Regions from separate parts of the Homo sapiens genome. Here region 2 is linked to region 1. The links are contacts of gene promoters, found by promoter capture Hi-C in human tissues and cell types (Jung and others, 2019). All regions are on one chromosome and are shown on one strand. The core of a region is centred on a gene start or on the middle of the fragment in contact, and the rest is flanking DNA. Distances in the headings are between cores, read along the strand shown. Region 1 holds the start of BEST1 (bestrophin 1). Region 2 has its middle 46 kb from the start of DAGLA.

Region 1 (5,655 bases), core at 3,090-5,589:
TTCAGGGATCAGGGCTGCCTGAGCTCAGGGTGGAGGTGCTGTTGTCTGTCTGGCTTCCGGGCCCTGGACTGGCAGTGTCCCCCAGCACCCCTGTCCAGCTATGCCAAGCCCCCTCCTTTTCTTTCTTGGCCTCTGCCCTATTTGTTCTGTGACTGGCCCAAGAGAGGGGTGTGGGCTGGCAGGTGTCCCACATAAAGCCTGGAGGCAGCATCCAGGCCTGGCTGACTTACCCCGGGGCCCCCTGCCTACTGCCCCCAGCCAAGCTGGGTCTCCTTCTTCCTGCCCAGCTGAGGCAGGGCCTAGAAGGGCACCGAGGCAGGCCCTCTGTGATGCTCCTGTTGCTATGGTAATTCTAGATGAGAAGGCCATAGCATTCTGTGTCTGGCACCCCCGCGCATCTCCCCAGCTCTGCCCTGCTGCCCCAAGAGATGGCTCTCTGCTGGGGAGCTCGAGAGCTTGGAATCTGCTGCAGTCAAAGTTTCTTCCATGCGGCCAGGCACAGTGGCTCATGCCTGCAATCCTAGCACTTTGGGAGGCCGAGGCGGGTGAATTACTTGAGGTCAGGAGTTCAAGACCAACCTGGCCAACATGGTGAAACCCCATCTCTACTAAAAATACAATACTTAGCCGGAAATCACTTGAACCCAGGAGGCAGATGTTGCAGTGAGCCAAGATCATGCCACTGCACTCCAGCCTGGGTAACAAAGCGAGACTCCGTCTCAAAAAAAAAAAAAAAGTATCTTTCATGCAGGCCCCATCCTTTGGACCTCCCTTCAACCCCAAGAGAGACCACTACCCTAGCAGGTAAGACTCTACCTCTCAGAAACTGACCTTTACTGTAGAGCTGATAGTGGGAAAGGGCTCAGGATCCAAAATCAAAAGACCTAGATCCTAGTCTCAAGCCATTTATAGCTGTGTGACCTTGGACAAGGCAGGCCTTGAGCTTCAGTGTCCTCCTTTGTAAAATGTGGATAAACATGCGATACTGAATCATCCTTCAGGAATAGCTCTATGACTTTCCGTAGGTTGTTCCCCTGATGTGTAATGCTCTTCCATTCTTCTCAGCTCCATGAACTCCTACTCATGCTTCAAGACCCAACCGAAATGCCCCATTGTCTGTAAAAATTTCCCTGACCTCTGTGCACTTGGCACAGATCTTAGGCCTTGCCATTCTGTGTTAGAGTTGTTATTTAAGTGTTTCCAAATTTTTTGACTATGAATACGTACAGGCAGGAATCAGATTAGGCTCAGTTCTGGAAGGAGAAATGGTTTGGCGAATATTTTCTTTGCGGAACGGAAAGCAGAAGAGGGCGACCTTGACTGGGTTGGGTGCCATCTCTGCAGGGGTCAATCCTGGGACTCTTGTTCCAGGCATGGCTTGGGTCAATCAGCACTCATGACTTTGCTGTGTGCCTGAGCCGTGCCTGGCTAACTGGGGACATTTTCATAGCTGAGACCCAGTAGGAGAGACCATGACTTGTGCCAGGGTGTGCCTGTCTCAGCTCTGGGGCAGGGCCAGGAGCAGCTGCTCATGGGATGTCTCTGGGGACATGCTGGGGCCTCTGGGAGGGGAAGGGAGACTGGCCATGCACTGTCTATGGTCCTGGTGGTACTCCTGGGATATTGCCAAGGAGCCTGCGGTTCAGGGAACAGGGAGGAGGGACTCTAGTGTCTCCAACTCCCTCTCATGGCTCTATGGCTGCTGGTCGGGGTCAGGGAGATGAAGCAGTGCCAGCTCCGTGGTCTGCACTGATCCTGACCAGTGAACCAGGCTTCCCCAGCCAGAGCCAGCTAGTCAAGCACGCTCTCTAGTGGCCACCACAGGGAAGGCAAGAACTTGTCTCCACAAAGGCAGGATTTTCATTTATTCCTTCAGAGAGTACAGAATGAGCATCAATGTTCCAGGCATGGTGCCAGGCATGTGTGTTAACTTTAGTTAAAACATACTTATTGGCCGAGTGTGGCGGCTCACTCCTGTAATCCCACCACTTTGGGAGGCCTAGGTGGGAGGACTGCTTGAACTTAGAGCTCAATACCAGCCTGGGTAATGTAGTGAGACCCTATCTCTATAAAAAAAAAAAAAATAGCTGGGTGTGGTGGTGTGCGTCTGTAGTCCCAGCGACTTGGGAGGCTGAGATGGGAGGATTGCTTGAGCCTGGGAAGTGGAGGTTGCAATGAGCCAAAATCACACCCATTGCACTCCAGCCTGGGTGACCTTGTCTCAAAAATATAGTTATATATTTACTTATATATTTATATGTATAAATATATGTGTACATACAAATATATTTGTAATATTATAGACATATTAATACATATTTACATATGTTAATATATAAATATATATAATATATATTTATCATCTTCTAAATGGAAAGCTCTTGAGTTTCAGGATGTGTTGGTTGGGAAGGGAATACAGGATAGGGAAATAATCCATTAAGCAATGACTCAGCACAGGCCATAAAATCAGAATCACCTGGAGAACTTGAACAATCCCAACACCTGGGGTCCATCCAGACCAATCAAATCAGAATTCGTAGGGGTCAGGCACAGGCACCAGTGGTTTGGAGAGTTGACGGACACATGTCCCATCCATCATTCTCATTCGGCTGCCAAGGTAGGCATCGTTGTCCCATTTTGCATATGAGGAGACTGAGGCTGAAGTGAACCTGCTTCTTTCCCCATATCAGTTGAGGACAGCGATGGGGCAGCGGGGAGGCAGTAAATACTCCTACAAGGCTGCCTCTAAAGAGAGTCTTATAATAACAACAGCTTTATTGTTTGCCATGATTAGAAAAGTATTCAAGGTCATTGCGAAATAGTGTTTTTTTTTCTAGGCAGATAATTATATAAAGGCAAAAATGGTGTGTGGGGGTGGGGGACAAGGGGAGGGAGAGCATTAGGACAAATACCTAATGCACGCAAGGCTTAAAACCTAGATGATGGGTTGACAGGTGCAGCAAACCACCATGGCACACGTATACCTATGTAACAAACCTGCACATCATGTATACCTATGTAACAAACCTGTACATTCTGCACACGTATCCCAGAACTTAAAGTGAAAAAAAAAGTGGTGTGTAGAAAAATCACCTGCAATCTCAGCATAGTTAACGCTTAGTACATTTCAGAGAGAGAGGGTGACAGGAAAGGGAGGATGAGAGTGGGTTTAAGACACAAGGTCATATTATAAAATCAGGGCTTCTGGAAGTTTAGTCCCAAAACCACACATCTCATAATCCCCTGCAGTGCTTGATTAAAATGCAACATCCCTAAGGCCACAGACTCAGACTCTGGAGAAAGATCCAGAAAACTGCCCGTTTAATAAACATTTGGGCGATTCTTACGGCCTCTAAAGACCAAGAACCACTGCTGCCTAGAGCTCTGCTCTCTTCATTGAACAATACAAGAGGAGTGTGTAGGTAGACACCCACCACTTCCAACAGCTTAGGAGAGCCCTTGAGTATGGATTGATGTATTAAAATTTATTGAATCACATGCTGAGATTTTCACCAGCTGCCCGTGGGGATCTGGGCATTTATTCCCATATTGCACTGGCTGGCTGGAAGCCAGCAGCATAAACTCCAGGGCTGTTCTGTCAACCCCCACCAGACTCACCCCCCTCCACCAGCCCCGGCAGGCTTCTCCTTCCATCTCTCTGAAGCAACTTACTGATGGGCCCTGCCAGCCAATCACAGCCAGAATAACGTATGATGTCACCAGCAGCCAATCAGAGCTCCTCGTCAGCATATGCAGAATTCTGTCATTTTACTAGGGTGATGAAATTCCCAAGCAACACCATCCTTTTCAGATAAGGGCACTGAGGCTGAGAGAGGAGCTGAAACCTACCCGGGGTCACCACACACAGGTGGCAAGGCTGGGACCAGAAACCAGGACTGTTGACTGCAGCCCGGTATTCATTCTTTCCATAGCCCACAGGGCTGTCAAAGACCCCAGGGCCTAGTCAGAGGCTCCTCCTTCCTGGAGAGTTCCTGGCACAGAAGTTGAAGCTCAGCACAGCCCCCTAACCCCCAACTCTCTCTGCAAGGCCTCAGGGGTCAGAACACTGGTGGAGCAGATCCTTTAGCCTCTGGATTTTAGGGCCATGGTAGAGGGGGTGTTGCCCTAAATTCCAGCCCTGGTCTCAGCCCAACACCCTCCAAGAAGAAATTAGAGGGGCCATGGCCAGGCTGTGCTAGCCGTTGCTTCTGAGCAGATTACAAGAAGGGACTAAGACAAGGACTCCTTTGTGGAGGTCCTGGCTTAGGGAGTCAAGTGACGGCGGCTCAGCACTCACGTGGGCAGTGCCAGCCTCTAAGAGTGGGCAGGGGCACTGGCCACAGAGTCCCAGGGAGTCCCACCAGCCTAGTCGCCAGACCTTCTGTGGGATCATCGGACCCACCTGGAACCCCACCTGTGAGTACAAGGTGCCCCAGGTGGACTGGGCTGGGGCTTTGAGGCCTTCAGGGTTGGATGGCCATCTTGCGTATTTGTGTGGGATATGCACACACAGGCAGCACATGCGCAGGTGTGTGGGCACCTGTGTGTCTGTGCAAATGCCCTGAGGTGGGAATGAGCTTGGTGTGCATCAGGCACAGCCAGCCAGTGTGGCTGCAGCAAAACACACAGGGAAAGAATGGAGGGGGCATCAATCACTGCTTCAGTAAATTTTTATTGAGCGCCTTCTACGAGAACACAAGAGGAGCTTCCATTCTGAGGAGGAAACAGGCAGGAAACAGGCAGATATCCTGTATAATTTCAAGTAGTGATAAGTGCTCTCTAGAAATATCAAGCAAGGTGAGGAGACACAGAGCACCGGTGGCAGTGGGGCTCTATTTCCAGGTTGGATGGTTGGGAACATCCTTTCTAAAGGGAACCTGGAGTGGGAAGGAACCATGCAGGTATCTCAGGAAGAGCTTCCTCCAGGCAGGAAGATCAGCAGGTGGAAAGGCCCTGGAGCCACCATTCAGTAAACATCATTTGAGCATCTCTACCAGCTAGGTTCCATTATGGGAATGGGAATATGGTGGTGGACAGGGCTGCCTGGTCCCTTCCATACTTCTCACACTAGGGTGGTTGAGAGAGCTTGGGAGCTAACGAACAAGATGGGCTGAGAACACTGCCTAGCCCAGAGGACCTGAGCTTAGTGTGTAGACATTGCTGCTGTTACTGCCTTTGTCATTGTATTATTTATTTATTTATTTATTTATTTTTAGACAGAGTTTTGCTCTTCTTACCCAGGCTGGAGTGCAATGGCGTGATCTCAGCTCACTGCAACCTCCACCTCCTGGGTTCAAGCGATTCTCCTGCCTCAGCCTCCTGAGTAGCTGGGATTACAGGCACCCGCACCACGCCTGGATAATTTTTTTGTATTTTTAGTAGAGACAGGGTTTCACCATGTTGGCCAGGCTGGTCTCGAACTCCTGACCTTAGGTGATCCACCTGCCTCGACTTCCCAAAGTGCTGGGATTATAGGCATGAGCCACTGCGCCCAGTGATTATAGAAAGTTAAAGGCACATGGCAATGCACACGCCTATCTACGTCTTCCCTGCCAAAGCAAAGGGCAGCCTCTGGGCTCACTTTCTTGCGTTTCTACTTCCAAAAGGCAGTCAGAACTGGCAGGGCCTTGGAGACCACTTCATCCACCTCCTAGG
Region 2 (5,542 bases), core at 1,351-3,850, 320 kb before region 1:
AATCGGTAATTTTAAAAAATTCAGTCATCACAGTGGCTCCTGCCTGTAATCCCAGCACTTTGGGAGGCCGAGGCAGGCGGATCACTTGAGGTTAGGAGTTCAAGACCAGCCTGGCCAACATGGTTAAACCCCGTCTCTACTAAAAATACAAAAATTAGCAGGGCGCAGAGGTTCCAGTGAGCCAAGATTGTGCCACTGCACTCCAGCCTGGGTGACAGACTGAGACTCCATCTCAAAAAACAAACAAACAAACCAAAAAAAAAAAAAACCCAAAAAACGAATCCTCAAGTACTTCTGATGCAGCTGGTGTGTGGTCTGCAGTTTGGGAACCGCCATCCGTGTGGCTCAAGCTGAAAGGTACCCTCTGCCTGTCTCTTTGCTATTAGGAGCAAAATCAGATCCTAGCACCCCCAGAACGTGGGGTGGGGGTTCCTTTTGACCTCTGGGGAGAATTTTCTCCTAGACAGGCTCTCTCTCAAAGTCTGCTAGTCAGATCCGGTAGTAACTCCACACCCCACATTATTATTAATTTTCATGACCTACATTTATATCATGTTTTAGATGCTGCTACTCAAAGCGTGGTCTCGCATTCCTTGGAGCTGATTAGAAATGCAGGGTCTCGGGCCACCCCCACGGTTGAATCTGAATCAGCGCATTAAGAAATTCCTCGGGGAATTCATGTGCGCGGTGCAGTGCAGCGTGGGAGCACAGCTTCAGGGTTTACAGAGTGGCATCTGGCGGGAGTTGGGGGAGGGAAGCCTGACCCCAGAGCCCGGCAGGAGAGGTAGCTGAGAGGCTGGGAGGCAGCCCAGGCTGATGTGAGCCTGGTTTTGTCTCTCTCATCCCACTGCCACAGTTCCCATTAAATGAAGCTGTCCCCATGGACCTGTCAATGGCCTCTTGGTGGCTTAGTCCCTGGACCTCACTCAATAAGCAGCCCTCCCAGGCCTCAGCCACCAATTCCCAGGGCCACCTGGCTATTGTGCTTGGCTTTCTTATTCCATGGCTTGTCCTGACACAGACCCTTCTGGCAGGGCACTTGCTCTCATGACGTCCCAGCAATCCCATCCGTTTGCACTTGTTGTAACGGCTTATTGGGCACTTACTAAGTGCCAGGGACTGAGAAAAGGACTCCACAGGCACCAGGCCATTTGGTCCTCACAAAACCCCATGAGGATGCTGCAGGGATTATCTGCATTTGGCAGACAAGGAAACCAAGGCTCAGAAAAGTGAAATAACTTGTACAAGCTACCATAATTAATAAGTGCTCAAGGTGGGATTTGAACTCTTGTCGGTCTGCCGGGCCTGAGTTCTTAACTAGAATGCCTCCATTTTTGCTGTGTTTTTATGGAGAACACTGAAGTTCAGTTTTGCAACCTGCGCAAGGTCATATGGCTGTTAAGTGCTGGGCCTGGGACTTGAACTCAGGGTGTTGTATTCCCAAACCTCAAATTCTTAACTGCTGGACTGGTTTCTTTATCCCAGGGGTCCCCAGCTCCCAGGTTGCAGACTGGTACTGGTCTGTGGCCTGTAAGGAACTGAGCCACACGGCATGGGGTGAGCGGAGGGCAAGCGAGAGAAGCTTCATCTGTATTTACAGCCTCTCCCCATCACTCTCATTACTGCTTGAGTGCCGCCTCCTGTTAGATCAGCAGCAGCATTAGATTCTCATAGGGGCACGAACCCTACTGTGAACTGCGCATGTAAGGGATCTAGATTATGCACTTTTTTTTTTTTTTTTTTTTTGAGATGGAGTTTCGCTCCTGTTGCCCAGGCTGGAGTGCAATGGTGCGTTCTTGGCTCACCACAACCTCCGTTTCTTGGGTTCAAGTAATTCTCCTGCCTCAGCCTCCCGAGAAGCTGGGATTACAGGCACTCACCACCACGTCTGGCTAATTTTGTGTTTTTTTTAGTAGAGATGGTGTTTCTCTATGTTGGTCAGGCTGGTCTCAAACTCCTGACCTCAGGTGATCCACCCACCTCAGCCTCCCAAAGTGCTGAGATTACAGGCGTGAGCCATCGCTCCTGGCCTTATGCACTCCTTATACAGGTCCCTGATGCCAAAAAGTTTGGGGAACGCTGCTTTACCCCATGTTACAGATTTGGGAGCTGAGACAGAGATGCTGAGCAAGTCAGCCTGGGTGTGTGAGGGTCTCCTAGTGCTATTCTGTCCACTCCAATTCCAGCTGCCTGGGCTCACTCTGGCATCAACCATCTCTGTCTGGGCTACCTCAGCAATAACCAGCATTGGGGGCTGAGTACCCCCACCCTGTGGGAGGCTGAGGCAGGATGATCCTTTGAGTCTAGGAGTTCAAGATCAGTATGGGCAACGTAGCAAGACCTCGTCTCTACAAAAAATACAAAAATTAGCCAGGCGTAGTGATGCGTACCTGTGGTCCCAGCTACTTGGGAGGCTGAGGTGGGAGGACGGCCTGAGTCTGGGTGGTTGAGGCTGCAGTAAGCCGTGATGGTGCTACTGCACTGCGCGACAGAATGAGACCCTGTCTCAATAAATAAATAAATGAAACCAGCTTTGATGAACCAGAGTTCCTGGAGCCACACCTGTAGCATAGAATGCTCAGGAGCAGGCCAGGCACAGTGGCTCACGCCTGTAATCCCAACACTTTGGGAGGCTGAGGCAGGCAGATCATGAGGTTAGGAGTTCGAGACCTGCCTGGCCAATATAGTGAAACCCCATCTCTACTAAAAATACAAAAATTAGCCAGGCATGGTGGCATGTGCCTGTAGTCCCAGCTACTCGGGAGGCTGAGGCAGGAGAATCACTTGAACTCAGGAGGCAGAGGTGGCAGTGAGCCGAAGATTGTGCCACTACACTCCGGCCTGGGTGACAGAGCGAGAATCCACCTCAAAAAAAAAAAAAAAAAAAAAAAAAAAAAAAAAGAATGCTTGGGAGCTCAGCACAGTGGGGAGAAATGGAGACTGACACCTCTTGGCCCCACGGCTCCGTGCCCCATGTAGGAAGCCAATTGCACACCTGGGCACAGGAAGTGGTGAAGTGCAGCAACTGCTGGCAGATCAGGAGGTGGTGGAAATGGGAACTGACAGTGTGGGTGGAGCTTCTCACCCCCCTAGGCACTGCCAGGTGCCCACCACAGCTGGGATGGTGGCTAGGGCAGGATGAGGGCTGCAGAGCCCCTGGGGTGGCCCTTGGCCAGCTGGGCAGGGAGGGGAGGGTCTGTGGGCTCCTCACTAGCTCTGCAACTGCAGGGGAGTTAACCTCCCCAGACTTCATGCCTCATCTATAATGTGCCCCATCTATAATTTTTTTTTTGAGGCAGAGTCTTGCTCTGTTGCCCAGGCTATAGTGCAGTGGTACAATCTCGGCTCACTGCAACCTCCGCCTCCTGGGTTCAAGTGATTCTCCTGCCTCAGCCTCCCGAGTAGCTGGGATTACAGGTACCCGCCACCACGCCCAGCTAATTTTTGTATTTTTAATAGAGACAGGGTTTCCCCATGTTGGCCAGGGCTGGTCTTGAATTCCTGACCTCAGGTGATCCACCTGCCTCAGCCTCCCAAAGTGCTGTGATCACAGGCATGAGCCATGGTGCCTGGCTTACAATGGCTTCTGGTACTGCTGAAAGCCTCCAGAGAGTCACATATCTAAAGTGCCTAGCACCCAGTTCACATTATCACCTGGGCTGGCCAAATCTAAGAGAGGCAATTTACACCGGGCTTCTGTGAGGGACAGGTGAATTATACAGTATATAGGAAAAATATGCAGTGCTGGCTATACAGCAAGCTGTATGTCAGTAACAGGTATTATTATTATTAGGAACAGGGACAGCTACATACTTTGCAGAGCCCAGTGCAAAATGAACATGTGGGGCCCTTGCTCACACATCATGAAGAATTTCAAGGTGTTGACAGCAGAGCATTAAATCAAGCTCTAGCCCTTTGGAGTGTAGGGCCCTCTGCAGCTGCAAAGGCTGCACAACCATGAAGCTGGCTGGGACTGTGACACAGGACACCAGAATCTTTATAATGGGCTCAGCTCTCTGTCCTTGGGAGGGTTGCCTCTCTGTTCAATGCTGGCGATGAGTGAGGCTTTGGGTTCCATACCTCCCCTGGTCTCCAGATTATTCTAGGAGAACCCCTTGTTACCTAGGAACTCCTAATAGCTGCTGCTTGGCCCAGCCCCAGATTCATGTCTGGAATAAGAGAACAGGATCCTTGAGTGTGAGGGCAGAAGACCCTTTGAGATCATCCCCTTCCCACCCCAAAATGGTGAGGACCTGCCAAGGACATGTGGGACCCAGTGATGAGGCAGAACAAAGATCCAGCCTCTGACTCCCAGCCTGGGAGCCCCATCTGGAAGAAGCAGCTTAGGCCTGATGAGGACGCCGGGGCTCCATGGCAGGAGGAGGGTGTGCTGGGGAGGAGGGGTGTGGGGAGGACAGTGCCACACCTGTCAGCCTGGGCTGTCCCTGGAGGAGGGGAGGGAGGAGTTTTTGTTCTCTTGGCTTCTCTGTGCTTTTTTGCAGTGGCACAAATTGCTTTTGTAATAACAGGAAAAAACGATCAACGAACCTTCATTTAAGAAAAAGCACAGCGTTCTCATGGGAACCAAGAAGACAAGCCCTTAATGCAAAGTGTATTCAGAGAGAAGAAAACAAGAAAAGCAGAGACGATTGGATTACAGCAATTGCTCTTATAACTCCTCTCCGCCCACCCCCTCGATGAGAAGCTGGTTTGAAGGACTGAGTATCAAATCCCTACTGAGCTCTGAGGTTCCAGGTGTGGATGGAGTGTGGGGCCCATGTGTGTGTCAGTGTGTGTGGGTGTGATTGTGTGAGCAACTGGGTGTGTGAGGTTCAGGCCCAGTCGGCTTGTCCAGACGCCAGGCCTGAGATGCCCTGGGGGTGCTAAGAGGGGTAGAGAGAAGCCAAAGGAACACAGGCTTTGAAACGAGGCAGAATTGAGTTGGAGTCCCAACCCCACCAACCTCACCTCTCTTCACTCTTCAGGCAGCGTAGAAAACAATGCCTGCCTTTTGCCAGGCATCCTCATGGAAGTGACATCGTCTTTAAACCTGTGTGGCAATCCCTGACGCACCACCGTGATGCCCAGGGAAGACAGGGTGACCTGGAAACCCAACTACTTCCTTAAGATCATCCAGCTATTGGATGATTATCTGAAATGTTTCATCGTGGGAGCAGACAATGTGAACTCCAAGCAGATGCAGCAGATCCGCATGTCCCTCTGCGGCAAGGCCGTGGTGCTGATGGGCAAGAACGCCATGACGCGCAAGGCCATCCGAGGGCACCTGGAAAACAGCCCAGCTCTGGAGAAACTGCTGCCTCGCATCTGGGAGAATGTGGGCTTTGTGTTCACCAAGGAGGACCTCACTGAGATCAGGGACCTGCTGCTGGCCAATAAGGTGCCAGCTGCCACCCGTGCTGGTGCCATTACCCCATGTGAAGTCACTGTGCCAGCCCAGAATACTGGTCTGGACCCCGAGAAGACCTCCTTTTTCCAGGCTTTAGGTATCATCACTAAAATCTCCAGGGGCGCCATTGAAATC

The links. The method cuts DNA at HindIII sites, captures the fragments that hold promoters and counts their contacts. A contact is called where the count stands out against the background at its distance.
Region 2: a contact is called between a fragment that was not itself captured here and the fragment with the promoter of BEST1 in region 1, in 1 of the 25 tissues and cell types used here (liver).

The regions. Positions count from the first base shown.
Region 1 is chr11:61,946,012-61,951,666 of GRCh38, forward strand. BEST1 (bestrophin 1) reads left to right here and starts at 4,340. Exons shown (of 11, transcript NM_004183.4): 1 at 4,340-4,416. It also overlaps a transcript of RAB3IL1 not described here. RefSeq lists a silencer at 38-201. The HindIII fragment of the contact is 11,891 bases long and covers 1-5,655 here.
Region 2 is chr11:61,631,600-61,637,141 of GRCh38, forward strand. It overlaps the pseudogene RPLP0P2. Among named protein-coding and RNA genes, the nearest start is that of DAGLA, 46 kb to the right of the region's middle. The HindIII fragment of the contact is 4,659 bases long and covers 272-4,930 here.